3 separate regions of the Homo sapiens genome follow, and all the other regions are linked to region 1. Evidence: promoter capture Hi-C in 16 types of primary human blood cells and fetal thymus (Javierre and others, 2016). All regions are on one chromosome and are shown on one strand. The core of a region is centred on a gene start or on the middle of the fragment in contact, and the rest is flanking DNA. Distances in the headings are between cores, read along the strand shown.

Region 1 (4,571 bases), core at 1,337-3,836:
GGGCTCAGGTTCCTTCTATTTTGTTGTGCCACTAGTGTGGCCTCTATTCCTATGGTCGCCTCATGGTTCAAGATGACTACACTTGCTCCAGCCATCATGTCCATGTCCCACCTTCCAACATGGTACTAATCAGTGAAGAGATTGCTGGATATAAACTCAAGCTAATCCATCAATAGTGTTTCCTAATTATTTTCCTTCAGAAATGAAACACATGCAGAGTTAAAAATCACATAGCAGCTGGGCGTGGTGGCTCACGCCTGTAATCTCAGCACTTTGGGAGGCCGAGGTGGGTGGATCACCTGAGGTCAGGAGTTCGAGATCAGCCTGGCAACATGGTGAAACCCTGTCTCTACTAAAAATACAAAGACTAGCCGGGTGTGGTGGTAGGCGCCTGTAATCCCAGCTACTTGGGACGCTCAGGCAGGACAATCACCTGAACCCAGGAGGCGGAGGTTGCAGTGAGCAGAGATCACACCATTGCACTCCAGCCTGGGCAACAAGAGAGAAACTCCGTCTCAAAAAAAAAAAAAAATCACATAGCACAAAAAGGCTTATGACAAAAAATTAAGGTCATCTGCCCTGGCCCTCCCTAACCCTCAGAAACAATTTCAACCTAGCTTTCAAACAGGTGCTGTCAATGGGAGTCACTCTGACATTCTGTACCAAGTGAAATGTTTGCAAAACCAACATGCCCCCGCTCAAAGGAGTCACCAGTGTCTCAGAAGGGTCAGCAGCTGACCTTCTTCATGGACCCCTTCTGTTATAAGAAGGAGTTTTGACAAATTCAGTTTGACAGAGTTTAATTGAGCAAATAATGATTTGTGAATCAGTCAGCCCCCAGAACCAGAATAGGTTCAGAGTGACTCTGAGGCTGCCAGGTGGTTGGATAACATTTAGGGATAGAAAACGGAAAGCAGGTTGGGCGTGGTGGCTCATGCCTGTAATTCCAACACTTTGGGAAGCCGAGGCTGGAGGATTGCTTGAGTCCAGGAGTTCCAGACCAGCCTGGGCAACATAGCGAATCTCCATTTCTATTAAAAAATAATCATTAAAATTTAAAAATAAGAAAAGAAAAAGGAAATAGATGTCCAGAAAACAGAAGCGAGGTACAGAAACAGTTGGACCAGTTATGTAAGCGCAGAACCAGCCCCATCTGGTTCAACTTTGTGTAATAAAGTGGTGAGTTGTTTTTTCAGTTGCCATGATCCCAGGTTGCAAGTTATGTAACCTGAGCGTGCCCAGAAGAACCAAGCATGCAACCACAGGCGCAACCTAAATGCTCAGACCAAAGAACCGGAACAGAATTAAGAAGTAGATACATGGTATAAGCCATGATCTAATCAGATTGAGCCATGGCATCATCCCATGGCAAGATCCAGTCAGATCATTGCTTATTGCAAGATTCAATCAGATCACTGCTCATTACCCTCTGCCTATAACACCTGTCACAGCCCCTGGCTTGGGGAGACAGATTTGAGCATGTCTCCTTCCCAGTTGACTTGCAACAAATCTTTCCCTCTACAAAAACCTGATACTTCGGTGTTTGGCTTTCTGAGGGCAAAGGGATCCAGTTTGGTTCCCTACCAATGACAGATTGACATTTGCCTTATTGGAACAAGGTTTGAACAGGTGGCTGCCTGTGATTGGCTGAAACTCTGTGATTGGTATGAGTAGGATCCAGTTCACTATGTACGGAGAAACCTTTAGGACAAACTTAAGATACGCCAGGAGACAACTTTAGGCTAAACTGGACACTTCTCCCCTTTTGGTCAACCTCTTGATTTTGAGAGGTTGGAAACTTTAGACATTGACATCAGTTACCATTGTAAATAGACTTATTTGGTCTCAAATTCCCCTGGGAAATAGCAGAGCAGTGGGTTTCATAGGTGGGAAAGGGAACAGAATAGAAAAAAAAAAAAAAACACCTGATTAGTTAACATCAGGTCACTTCAGATTCCTTTTTTTAAGGGTTAGAGCAGAGGGGGCTTCCTTATTATGCTGGACTCTCCTGTTTCCAGGGGGGAAGGGAGGAGATGGGGAATACTGGTAATTCTGTAGAATGAATGGGTGGGGGAAAGAGATTAACTAGTAAATGGAAATGAGTGTGTGGTGGCCTTGGGGCTCCTCAGTCTGAGCTCAGCCCATCTGGGGCTCCTCCTAGGTTCTGGGCTTCCATCTGCTTCCCCCTCCTTTTGGGTCCCTCTGAGAAGCCTCCCAAGATCGAGCTGTGTACAGAGCGAGTCCTCGCTGGCCACTCGGAAGGCGGCGGACGTCCGCGCCGGCGCACTAGCCCAGAGCGGCCTGGTCTCCGCCCAGTGGGCGGGGCCTCTTACCGGGGGCGGGGCCGAGGCGTGCGGCGAGCGCTGGAGGGGTCTCGTGGGCGCTCCCGTGGTTGTGGCCCGGGCGGCCGCGAGCGTGTGTGTGTGGCACGATGTCGTGGTAACTCAGAGGCGCGCGAGGCGGGGCGGCCAACGGGGTCGCGGGGCGAGCACGCGCGCCACTGGGGCGCCGGACGTTGCAAGGGGGTCACATCCGGTAGGGGGCGGGCCTGGCGGACCCCGGAAGTGTGGGCGCGGCTGCGGTTTAACCCGCGGTGGCGGCGGCGACGGCGGCCCTGGCAGGTGAGCGGAGACTGGGGAGGGTCCCGGCTCTGCCGCAGGCGGGCGGGGCAGAGGACGACGGTGGGGGCGGCGCCGGCCGTGGCTCCCGGAGCGCCCCCGCCTGCCCGCCTCATCCTGGCAGAGGCCGGTGATTGGGCACGAGGGGCGCGTGACTCTCGCCGGGGGCCGGCGCCCCTGCCCCTCGCGGTGGGAGGGAGGGAGGGAGAGCGCGAGGCGCCGCCCCGGCTCCCCGGCGGGTCGCACCTCCAGTTCCGCCCCACCACTCACCGCCACCCTCCTTTCTGCGTCTCTGCAGGCCCTCGTCCCATATGTGAGCATCTTGCGGTCACAATTCTGATGACATTAGAGCCAATTAGCCCATTGTATAGATGGGGAAGCTGAGGCCTAAGAGTAGGGTCCGACTTGCCAGAGGGCACGCGGGAGACGAGTGGCAGAGGGGAGGTTGGAGGGACTTTGCTCTGTGACTTACTGGCTTGTGCCCTTTCTCCAGGGCATTGAGAGATGGGAGTTTCAGCTTTGGCTTTGTTCAGGACTCAGACTTGGACCTCCCAGCATCACTGAACATTTCTTACCCCGGGACCCTCTGGGCGCAAAGGGCACTGATGTATACATACCCATTATATGCCTGGTTCCTCTTCATTTCCTCCTCAGCCGATGAGGCGATTTCCCACTTTACGGATGGGAGAAGGAGTTAACTGGAGGTGTTTTGTGAGTTACTGGCAGAGTGGACTCTACAACCTGGGGTTTTAGTCGCTGAGCTGAGGCAGTGCTTTCCCAGCTACACCTTGTCTGGGCTCACTTACCCTGGGAATGTCAGTCTTCAGCTCCAGAAACTTCCCACTCATTTCCCTTCGCTCCAGCGGTACCTCAGTTCTCTTGCTGCCTAAGGCCTTTTCCACCCTCTTTATTGGCTCCAGGAGTCCCATTTCCTACTAATGCACCAAGATGCTGCCACCAGACTCTCAGTTCTGTGACTTTTGGCCTTAGAGCTGGAGGTGGTGGTGACCGAGGAACTGGGGAAAGAAAGACTCTTACTTTGTTGTCCAAAGCTGCAACCCTGCAGACACCTGAACTCTGTAGTTCCGGGTGGGATCGGGGACTGTTGCAATGAAAATACTGGACGCTAAACTGAGTCTTTGTTCTTTGCGGTCATAGTGCCCAGAAAAGCCTTTTACCTAGATTATCTTGGAAATGTGGTTCCGTGCCTTTGTAATTTCCATTAAGTAGAACATTTTCATTGTAGACTTTCTGAGCAGTTTCTGGCCGCTGTTTTGCAGGTAGCAATAGCTGTGATTTGTTGCTTGGCTTCATATGCTGGGCACTGTTCTAGGGCTTTCTGAACATACCGAATTTTGCGAACATGTCCAAATAGGTGATGATCCCGTTTTACAGATGAAGTGAGTTGCGGAGATGTTAGATAACCTGGCTAGTGTCACACAGCCAGTAAGTGGCCAAGTTTGGATTTTTTTTTTTTTTTTTTTTTTTTTTTGAGACGGAGTCTTGATCTGTCGCCCAGGCTGGAGTGAAGTGGTGTGATCTCAGCTCACTGCAACCTCCGCCCCCTGGTTCAAGCGATTCTCCTGCCTCAGCCTCCCAAGTAGCTGGGATTATAGGTGCCCACCACCACGCCCGGCTAATTTTTGTATTTTTTATTTATTTATTTATTTATTTTTTTTTGAGACGGAGTCTCGCTCTGTCGCCCAGGCTGGAGTGCAGTGGCGGGATCTCGGCTCACTGCAAGCAATTTTTGTATTTTTTAGTAGAGACGGGGTTTCACCATGTTGGCCAGGCTGGTCTCGAACTCCTGAGCTCAGGTGATCCACCCGCTTTGGCCTCCCAAAGTGCTAGGATTACAGGTGTGAGCCACTGCGTCTGGCCACAAGTGAGATTTGTAACCCATCAGTCTTATTTCGAAGTTAATGTGCTTTTAACTCTGTGATACTGCCTCTC
Region 2 (4,571 bases), core at 1,368-3,867, 360 kb after region 1:
GTGTTCCCGCAGTTGGTCTGTGTTGTGTTATTAAACTATTTGGGAAATTTAAGAGATCTTCAAGGGCAACTTTGACCCTCCATAATTTTTCTTTTCTTTTTTCTTTTTCTTTTTTTTTTTTTTAGGTGGAGTCTTTGTCGCCCAGTCTGGAGTGCAGTGACGCGATCTCAGCTCACTGCAACCTCCGCCTTCTGGGTTCAAGCAATTCTCCTGCCTCAGCCTCCCAAGTAGCTGGGACCACAGGCGTGCACCACCATGACCAATTAATTTTTGTATTTTTAGTAGAGACGGGGTTTCGCCAAGTTGGCCAGGGTGGTCTCAAACTCCTGACCTGAGGTGATCGCCCGCCTTGGCCTCCCAAAGTGCTGGGATTACAGGTGTGAGCCACTGCGCCTGGCCATCCCCTGCATGATTTTTATCTTGTCCACCGGCTTGGGATACTAATCTCTGTGTAATGGGAATTTCCTGTGTTTGGAGGCTACACTTGCTCCCTGCTTCTCTCATCTCATGCCTTTGTCCATGCTTGCCCTGCGCCTGGAATATCATTCTTCCCCCTGGGACTCAGCTCAGGCATCTAATCCTCCTACAGCACTTCCCTGGCTGCCCCAGCCCAGGCCGAATGTGGCTTGCTCCTCTGTGTTCCTATGACGCCTGGCCCAGGGCCTCCTAATTTCACTGTGTTGTCTTGTGTTGATTTTTTCACTCCCTGGAGCCATCTTGCAGAAGGGCCTTTTCACTTCTGTTTCAGAGACAGAAGAGCCTGGACTTTGTCGTTGATCAGACGAAGGCTTGAGTCCTGTTTCTGCCACCATGAAGCTGCGTTAAGCAGCCTCTCTAGGCCTCCATATCTTTATCTGCAAAATAGAGACAACCACAGCCCTTTTCTGAGAAGATCCTTGAGGATGACCGGGCCTGGTGGCTCATGCCTATAATATCCCAGCACTTTGGGAGGTTGAGGTGGGTGGATCACTCAAGGTCAGGAGTTCGAGACCAGTCTGACCAACACGGTGAAACCCTATCTCTACTAAAAATACAAAAATTAGCTGGGAGTGGTGGTGCGTGCCTGTAATCCCAGATACCCAGAAGGCTGAGGCAGGAGAATCGCTTGAAACCAGGAAGAGGAGGTTGTAGTGAGCCGAGGTCATGCCACTGCACTCCAGCCTGGGCAACAGAGTGAGACTCTGTTTCAAAAAAAAAGAGAAAGATCCCTGAGGATGAAGAGATGCTGATAAACTGCTCAGCCACTTCTGGCACAAATAAACTGACAAACGGAGGCGGCATTGCAGAGCGGCCACGAGTCATAAGTTCAGGTTCTGGCATCCAATGGAGTGTGATTCCTCGTTCTACCACTTTCTTGCTACGTGACTTTCAGGAAATTACTTAACTCCTCTGGGCCTGAGTCTCCTAATCCATAAACTGCTTTTTGTGAGGACTTCTTGCAAAAGTGCTTAGAATGGTGTCTGGCATAGAGTAAGCACTCAGTAAAGGTTAGCTATTGGAGTGGAATAAAATTTAACATGGGGATGTTTGACGACTACCAGCCTCCAGGCTGCCAAAGATAATTCTGTGATTGCCAGTCCTGTCCACTTGTTCTACAACTTCTCTTGCCTCTGTGTGCCTGTGATGATCTTTTGATGTGTCAGTTTGGCTGGGCTACATCCCCAGCAATTCGACCAAGCATTAATCTAGGTGTTAATACCTGTGAAAGTAGGCCGGGCACGGTGGCTTACGCCAGTAACCGCAGCACTTTGGGAGGCTGAGGCAGGTGGATCACAAGGTCAGGAATTTGAGACCAGCCTGACCAACATGGTGAAACCCCATCTCTACTAAAAATACAAAAAATTAGCCGGACGTGGAGGCACGCGCCTGTAATCTCAGCTACTCAGGAGGCTGAGGCAGGAGAATCGCTTGAACCCTGGAGGCGGAGGTTGCAGTGAGCCAAGATCCTACCACTGCACTCCAGCCTGGGTGACAGAGTGAGACTCTGTGTCAAAAAAAAAAAAAACAAAAAAACCTGTGAAAGTATTTTGTAGGTGTGATTGAATCCACAATGAGTTGACTGTAAGTAAGGGAGATTTTCCTAGATAATCTGGGTGGGCCTGATTCCGTTGAAAAGCTTAAAGAATAGAACTGAGGTTCCCCTGATGAAGTTATTCCCCCTGTGGACAGCAGCTCCAGCTCTGCCTTCCCGAGTGTCTGCTCTGCCAATTGTACACTTGCGCCTGCAGCTCCCCCTAATCGTATAAGCCAATTCCTTGCAATGAATCTTAGTCTATATGTCTCACTGTTTCTGTTTCTATGGGGGAACCCTAACTGATAAGAGCATCCAGCACCTGGCAGGGGCCTGACACACCATGGGGACAATCTGCTTCTGAACGGATGCAAGGCAATCGGACTGTTTGGAAGGAAGTGAGGAGGTGGGGAGGAAGTGATCACAGCCATGAGGGGTGGTGAGGGGCAGGCTAAGGGTTTTGACCTGGGAAGAGCTAAGTCTTTGTGCAGAAGAAATGACAGGGCCAGGACAGCTCAGACACCTGCAGGCCTCTTCTCACACAGCCTCTCCTTCTGGCCATGCCCTGTATTCCAGATTAGGTCTCCATCACATTCTCTCATAACGCCTCTCAATTTCCCTTTATGGTAGTTATACATTCGCAGGTGTGATCGTTGGATTAGTGCCTGTCTCTCCCACCAGAGTCCGAGCTCTGAGAGGCTGGGGTTTGCTCATGGTGGTTTGCCCCTGGACATAGCATTGTAGGGACTCAGTCTTTACCTGTGGAATGAATGAAGAGTAAATGAGTGCAATGCCGTCCTGCCTCTGTGACCTGCCTTAAGGTCATGGAGACGGAGAAGGAAGAGGGTGTGGCTTTGAAGTTTCTTTTAGGCTCCCAGGGTCGGGCTGGGGTTAGAGTTTGCAGAATTATCTCATAGTCTAGGGGAGATGATAAATTTGGGAGCCAGGAAGTCAGGGTGCTGGATGCAGATAGGAGTTGGCCGTGTTCCTGCTCTCAGGCTCCTAGGAAAGCAGGTGGGGCAGGCTGGGGAAGTGTGGTGGTAGCTCAGGACCGGGGTTCTAGCCTCATGTCCATCAAAGGTCTGCTGGATAACTTCACTAAGCTTCATCTGGGCCAAGTTTCTCCATCTGTCTCATGATGGGTTAGTTGAGATGATCCGCAAAGATTCTTCCAACACCAGAGTTCAATGAGATTAGGAAGTAGAATTCTAGGTTCAAGGGCCGCAGTAAATTTTTAATCTCAACTGCAGAGTGCAAACCCTTGCACCTCCCTTCTGCAAACAGAGTGGAGTGAAGAGATCTACTTGCCTTGTTTTCCAGACTTCAGTCCTTCAAGCTCTAACTTCATGACTTTATTTTTTAATATTTTTATTAATTTATTTATTTGTTTTTATTGAGACAGAGTTTCGCTCTTGGTGCCCAGGCTGGAGTGCAATGGCTCAATCTGGGCTCACCGCAACCTCCGCCTCCTGGGTTCAAGCGATTCTCCTGCCTCAGCCTCTCGAGTAGCTGGGATTACAGGCATGCGCCACCACACCCGGCTAATTATTTTGTATTTTTAGTAGAGACGGGGTTTCACCATGTTGGCCAGGTTGGTCTCGAACTGCTGACCTCAGGTGATCCACACACCTCTGCCTCCCAAAGTGCTGGGATTACATGTGTGAGTTACCACACCCGGCCTAACTTCATGACTCTAAAACATTTGTGTTTTGTGTCGCTATTTGTTTAGTAAGTTTCCTTAAGTGGCCTCTTTTTTAAATCAATGATTTTTAGTATGGGCAGACTTATGCAAGCATCATTACAATTAATATTAGAACATTTTTGTCACTCCTTCAGAAAACCCCATATCCACTATCACTGTTTTAACTTACATATGTATATTATAAAAGAGCACTTGATAGCACTACCATAAATAGAAATTCAGTATCACTTGCCATAAATGGAAGATACGCATAAAAGTAAACCCAATGGGCATTCTGGCTAATACAGTGAAACCCTGTCTCTACTAAAAATACAAAAAATTAGCCGGGTGCGGTGGCGGGTGCCTATAGTCCCAGCTTCTCGGGAGGCTGAGGCAGGATAATGGTGTGAACCCGGGAGGCAGAGCTTGCAGTAAGCCGAGATCGTGCCACTGCACTCCAGCCTGGGTGACAGAGTGAGACTCTGTCTCAAAAAAAAAACAAAAAAACAAACAAAAAACCAAAACAAAACAGCACAAAAAAAACCAAAAACCAAAAAAAAAAAAAAAAACCCAATGGGAACAAAACTGTGTTGTCGAATTCTGGCTCTATACGATTGCCTGCTGCACGCTGGGCTTGCTGTCTTAGTAAAAGGAAGGAAGAACAAGTGTTAGGTGTTAAAGATATAGCTGTCCCAGGCTGGGTGTGGTGGCTCACGCCGGTAGTCCCAGCACTTTGGGAGGCCGAGGCGGGCGGATCATGAGGTCGGGAGATCGAGACCATCCTGGCTACCACGGTGAAACCCCGTTTCTACTAAAAATACAAAAAATCAGCCAGGCGTGGTGGCACGCGCCTGTAGTCCCAGCTACTCGGGAGGCTGA
Region 3 (4,571 bases), core at 842-3,341, 300 kb after region 1:
CATTAGATTTAGTTGATGCATCTTGGCCTTGTATTAGTCCGTTTGGCTGCTGTAACAAAATACAGACTGAGTGGCTTAAATAAGTCTTTTTCTCACAGCTCTGGAGCCTGGATGTGCTAGGTCAAAGTGGTGGCAGGTCTGGTTGCTCCTGAGGCCTCTCTCTTTGGCCTGCAGACAACCGTCTTCTCACTGAGTCCTCACGTGGTCTTTCCCCTGTGCTGGTGCGTCCTTGGTGTCTCTTTGAATGGTCAAATTCCCTCTTCTTCTGGCTGGCACGGTGGCTCACGCCTGTAATCCTAGCACTTTGGGAGGCCGAGGTGGGCAGATCACTTGAGGTCAGGAGTTTGAGACCAGCCTGGCCAACATGGTGAAACCCCATCTCTACTAAAAATACAAACTAATTAGTTGGGTGTGGTGGTGCACACCTGCAATCCCAGCTCCTCAGGAGGCTGAGGTGGGAGAATCACTTGAACCTGGGAGGTGGAGGTTGCAGGGAGCCAAGACGGCACCACTGCACTCCAGTCTGGAAGACAGAGTGAAACTCCATCCCAAAAAACAAAAACAAATTTCCTCTTCTTCTAAGGACACCAGTCAGATTGGATTAGGGCCACCTTAAGGGGCTCAATCTTAAATCACATCTTTAAAAGCTCTATCTCCAAATACAGTCACATTCTGAGGGATGGGGGTGGAGGGTTAGGGATTTCGCATATGAATTTTGGGGGGATACAATTCAGCTTGTACAGAAGTGATGTTGTGTCCTTCTCAGTATCTCGAGGCACACCCCGCTGGCTTGTCCTGTTATTGCTGATGTGACTTTGATCACTTGGATAAGGTGGTGTCTGCCAGGTTTCTCCACCATAAAGTAATGATGTTTCTCTTTGTAATTCATGAGTATCTTACAGGGAGATACTTTGAGACTATGTAATCAATCCTGCTCCTCTTCAAATGTTCACTGGCTAGTGTGGTTGCCAAGTGGGTGGTGGTTCTCTAACTCTACCCTTCCTTCTGCATTTATTTGCTATCATAAGAGAGAACTTTTCCTAACGGGGGCTTTTAGGGGCCAGAGAGAGAATCAGCTGGAGTCTTTGAGAGGCCTGGATTTTGCCTGGTGCTCACTGTTTATGAGCACAAGGGCCCTGGGAAGTCACTTACCGGCTTTTTTCCTCTATCTGGAGAGTAAGGATGAGAATGATTATGGTGGGGATGCAATTACATAAGACACGGAGAGGTGTTTCCCCACTGGTCATGGACCCATGGGGAAAGTACGTCTCCCAAGGTGCTGGAAATGGGCAGGGAAAGAGAAGGGGGGCTTCCTCAGGGCCAAGGGCAGAACACCTTTGGGAAAAGGGTACCAGAGTATCCAAGAGAGAGAGAGAGCGCGCACGAGCGCCCTGAGCCCTCGGTTACGACTCTACGTTCTTGCAAAGACTCATGGACACCAAGAATTATCAGCCTGGGAGGATCCCAGCTCCTCTGCTCACCCACTGGAGACCTTGGAAAAGTCCCTTCCCTGCTCTGTGACTTGCTTTCCTCATCTATAAAATGGGGTTATAATAGCACCTAAATTGTAGGGTTGCTCTGAGGATTAAATGAGATAATCCATGTGAAGCAGGCAGAACAGGGTCTGCACATGGTCATCATTTGAACACGATAGCCATTACAACCACGATTATTTTTATTGATAAAGAGAGAGGGTCAGATGGAGGTGACTTGACTTGGAATCTTGGCTTTATCCACTTGGCTTCTGGTTTTTGGGTTTTTTTTTAGAGATGGGGTCTTGCTATATTGCCCAGGCTGGTCTCAAACTCCTGGGCTCAAGCAATCTGCCCGCCTCTGTCTCCCAAAGTGCTGGGATTACAGGCATGAGCCTCCACACCTGGCCACTTGGCCTGTTTGTAAACCTGTTTGTTCATTTCTTTCTTTCTGTTTTTAACCTATGAATTTTTTTTTAATGGAACTTCAGTTTCTTTTCTTTCTTTTTTTTTTTTTGTTTTGTTTTGAGACAGAGTCTCACTCTGTCGCCCAGGCTGGAGTGCAGTGGCGCGATCTCGGCTCACTGCAAGCTCCGCCTCCCGGTTCACACCATTCTCCAGCCTTAGCCTCCCGAGTAGCTGGGACTGCAGGCGCTGGCCACCATGCCCGGCTAATTTTTTATATTTTTAGTAGAGACGGGGTTTCACCGTGTTAGCCAGGATGGTCTCGATCTCCTGACCTTGCGATCCGCCCGCCTCAGCCTCCCAAAGTGCTGGGATTACAGGCGTGAGCCACCGCACCCAGTTGGAACTTGAGTTTCTTAATCTATAAAATGGAACTAAGAATACAGTCCACCTAAGTGGGGCGCCGTGTAAGTATCAGTTGCTTGCCCTGTCTCCTCTGTGAATAGAGCCTAGGGAAGGCACTGGAGGAGGATGGAGCCTCTCTAGGCTGGAAAGACAAAATCCCCTTTCAGGGGATCCATGCATGCCAGGAAACCAGCAGGAAGCAGGCTGCCTCACTCCGGGGCCTGCAGAGTAACCCAAGAGCAGCGCCAGCTGTGTGTGTATGTATGGACCGTGCTCACCGCAGAGATGCTCCCAGAAGGCCAGTGGGAGCGCATTTAACTGAAGACAGGCAGCCCTGCTTCCCCTGAGGGAACAAAGAACCTCAGAGAATCTCATCAGCTGCGAAGAGCTGGGCTCTGCTGCTGGACCACATGGCTCTGAACTCCAGCTCCTCTGCTCCCCAGCTGAGCAGGCTTGGTAGGGTTGCTTAAGCTCTCTGAGCCTCAGTTTTCCCCTTGGTGAGTGACGATGATAGTGGTACCTAACTCAGAGGGGTGCGTGAATATTTGATGAGCTCATCCATGAGCAAGTTTCAGCCTTACGCTGGCACATAGTGAGTGCCCCATAAGTGTTAGCTATTACTGTTTTCATTTTTTTTTTTTTTTTTTTTTTGAGATGGCGTCTCGCTCTGTCACCCAGGCTGGAGTGGAGTGGCAGGATCTCGGCTCACCATAACCTCTGCCTCCTGGGTTCAAGCGATTCTCCTGCCTCAGCCTCCTGAATAGCTGGTATTACAGGCGTGCACCATCACACCTGGCTAATTTTTGTATTTTTAGTAGAGATGGGGTTTTGCCTGTTGGCCAGGCTGGTCTCGAACTCCTGACCTCAAGTGATCTGTCCGCCTCATCCTCCCGAAGTGCTGGGATTGCAGGCATGAGCCACCGTACCCAGAAGCTATTATTGCTTTCACTGTGTTGAATGGTGGCCCTCAAAAGACATGTCCACAACCTAACCCCTGGAACCTGTGAATGTGGCCTTATTTGGATAAGAGGACTTTGCAGATGTAATCAATTTAAGAATCTCAAGATGAGAGCACCCTGGATGATCCAGATGAGCCCTAAGTCCAGTGACCAGTACTCTGTGAGAGACACATGAAAAGAGGGAGGGGGAAGGCCAGGTAAAGAGGAGGTAGAGATTGCAGTGATGCAGCCCTAAGCCAAGGGACGCCTGGAGCCACCAGAAGCTGGAGGGGCCAAAAAGTCTCCTTTTCTAGAGCTTTCGGAGGAAGTGCTGGCATCTGATTACAGACTCTGGCTTCCAGACTGTAAGAGAATAAGTCTCTGTTGTTTAAAGCTGCCACGTTTGTGGTAGTTTGTTCTGACAGCCCGAGGAAACAAATACACCACTGTTGTTTCTGCGACGATTGCCTGGCACATGTGTGGGCCTGAGCCCAGGCCAGGGCTGCCTCTGCCTGCTCTGCCTTCTTGTCTTCCTTCCTACTATAAAGCGATCAGTCCCCAAGGTTGTACCCACTGCAGGTGAAGACAGAGCCATGGAGAATTGCACCAGACCATGGGTAAGAAAGGTTCCAGAATGGGGCCGGACACAGTGGCTCAGGCCTGTAATCCCAGGACTTTGGGAGGCTGAGGCAGGCAGATCACCTGATGTCAGGAGTTTGAGACCAGCCAGGCTAACATGGTGAAACCCCTTCTCTACTAAAAATACAAAAATTAGCCGGGTGCGGTGGCGCACGCCTGCAGTCCCAGCTACTTGGGAGGCTGAGGCAAGAGAGTCGCTTCAACCCGGGAGGCGGAGGTTGCAGTGAGCCAAGATAGGGCCACTGCACTCCAGCCTGTGCAACAGAGCGAGACTCAGTCTCAAAAAAAAAAAAAAAAAAAAAAAAGTAAAGGTCTCAGAATGGGTCACCACAAGGGACTGGGGTCCTTTGAGGTCTGCACAGGGAAGCCAATTTTAGAGATTCATTCTGTTCAGCAAATATATGTTGGGACCCCTCTCATGTGTCAGGCCCTCTGCTTGCCTTTGGAGGTGAGAAGATAAAACAGGAATAAGTCTCTGTCTTCAGGTGGCTCATGAGGGTGGTGAACAGTTGTGTGAACAAGAGTTACCAGGGAAGACAGGGGGGCTGCAGGTCAAGTGAAGTGGAGATGTGGGAGAGGAGGGACAGCAAGTGGGTCTGAGAGAATCAGCAAAGGCTTCCCAGAGGAGGCAACCTCTAACCAGGGTTTTGAAGGATGAATAGGAGTTCACTGAGAGGCCAAGGGAAGAAAAGGCATTCCAGAGCAGAGCACA

The links. Contacts are between HindIII fragments. The CHiCAGO score rates a contact against its expected background, and 5 or more counts as called.
Region 2: a contact is called between a fragment that was not itself captured here and the fragment with the promoter of VPS37C in region 1, in 2 of 17 cell types (total CD4 T cells and activated CD4 T cells). The highest score is 6.3, in total CD4 T cells.
Region 3: a fragment that was not itself captured here is called in contact with the fragment with the promoter of VPS37C in region 1 in 4 of 17 cell types (naive CD8 T cells, non-activated CD4 T cells, activated CD4 T cells and 1 more); the score reaches 8.3 in naive CD8 T cells.

The regions. Positions count from the first base shown.
Region 1 is chr11:61,159,441-61,164,011 of GRCh38, reverse strand. VPS37C (VPS37C subunit of ESCRT-I) reads left to right here and starts at 2,586. Exons shown (of 5, transcript NM_017966.5): 1 at 2,586-2,621. RefSeq lists enhancers at 1,997-2,136, 2,147-2,196, 1,937-2,529, 2,530-3,123 and a silencer at 2,187-2,946. The HindIII fragment of the contact is 11,808 bases long and covers 1-4,571 here.
Region 2 is chr11:60,804,065-60,808,635 of GRCh38, reverse strand. The region is part of intron 2 of LOC105369322 (a long non-coding RNA gene); the gene reads left to right. Among named protein-coding and RNA genes, the nearest start is that of MS4A10, 21 kb to the right of the region's middle. The HindIII fragment of the contact is 998 bases long and covers 2,119-3,116 here.
Region 3 is chr11:60,859,190-60,863,760 of GRCh38, reverse strand. No RefSeq gene overlaps it. Among named protein-coding and RNA genes, the nearest start is that of PTGDR2, 5.5 kb to the right of the region's middle. The HindIII fragment of the contact is 7,101 bases long and covers 1-4,571 here.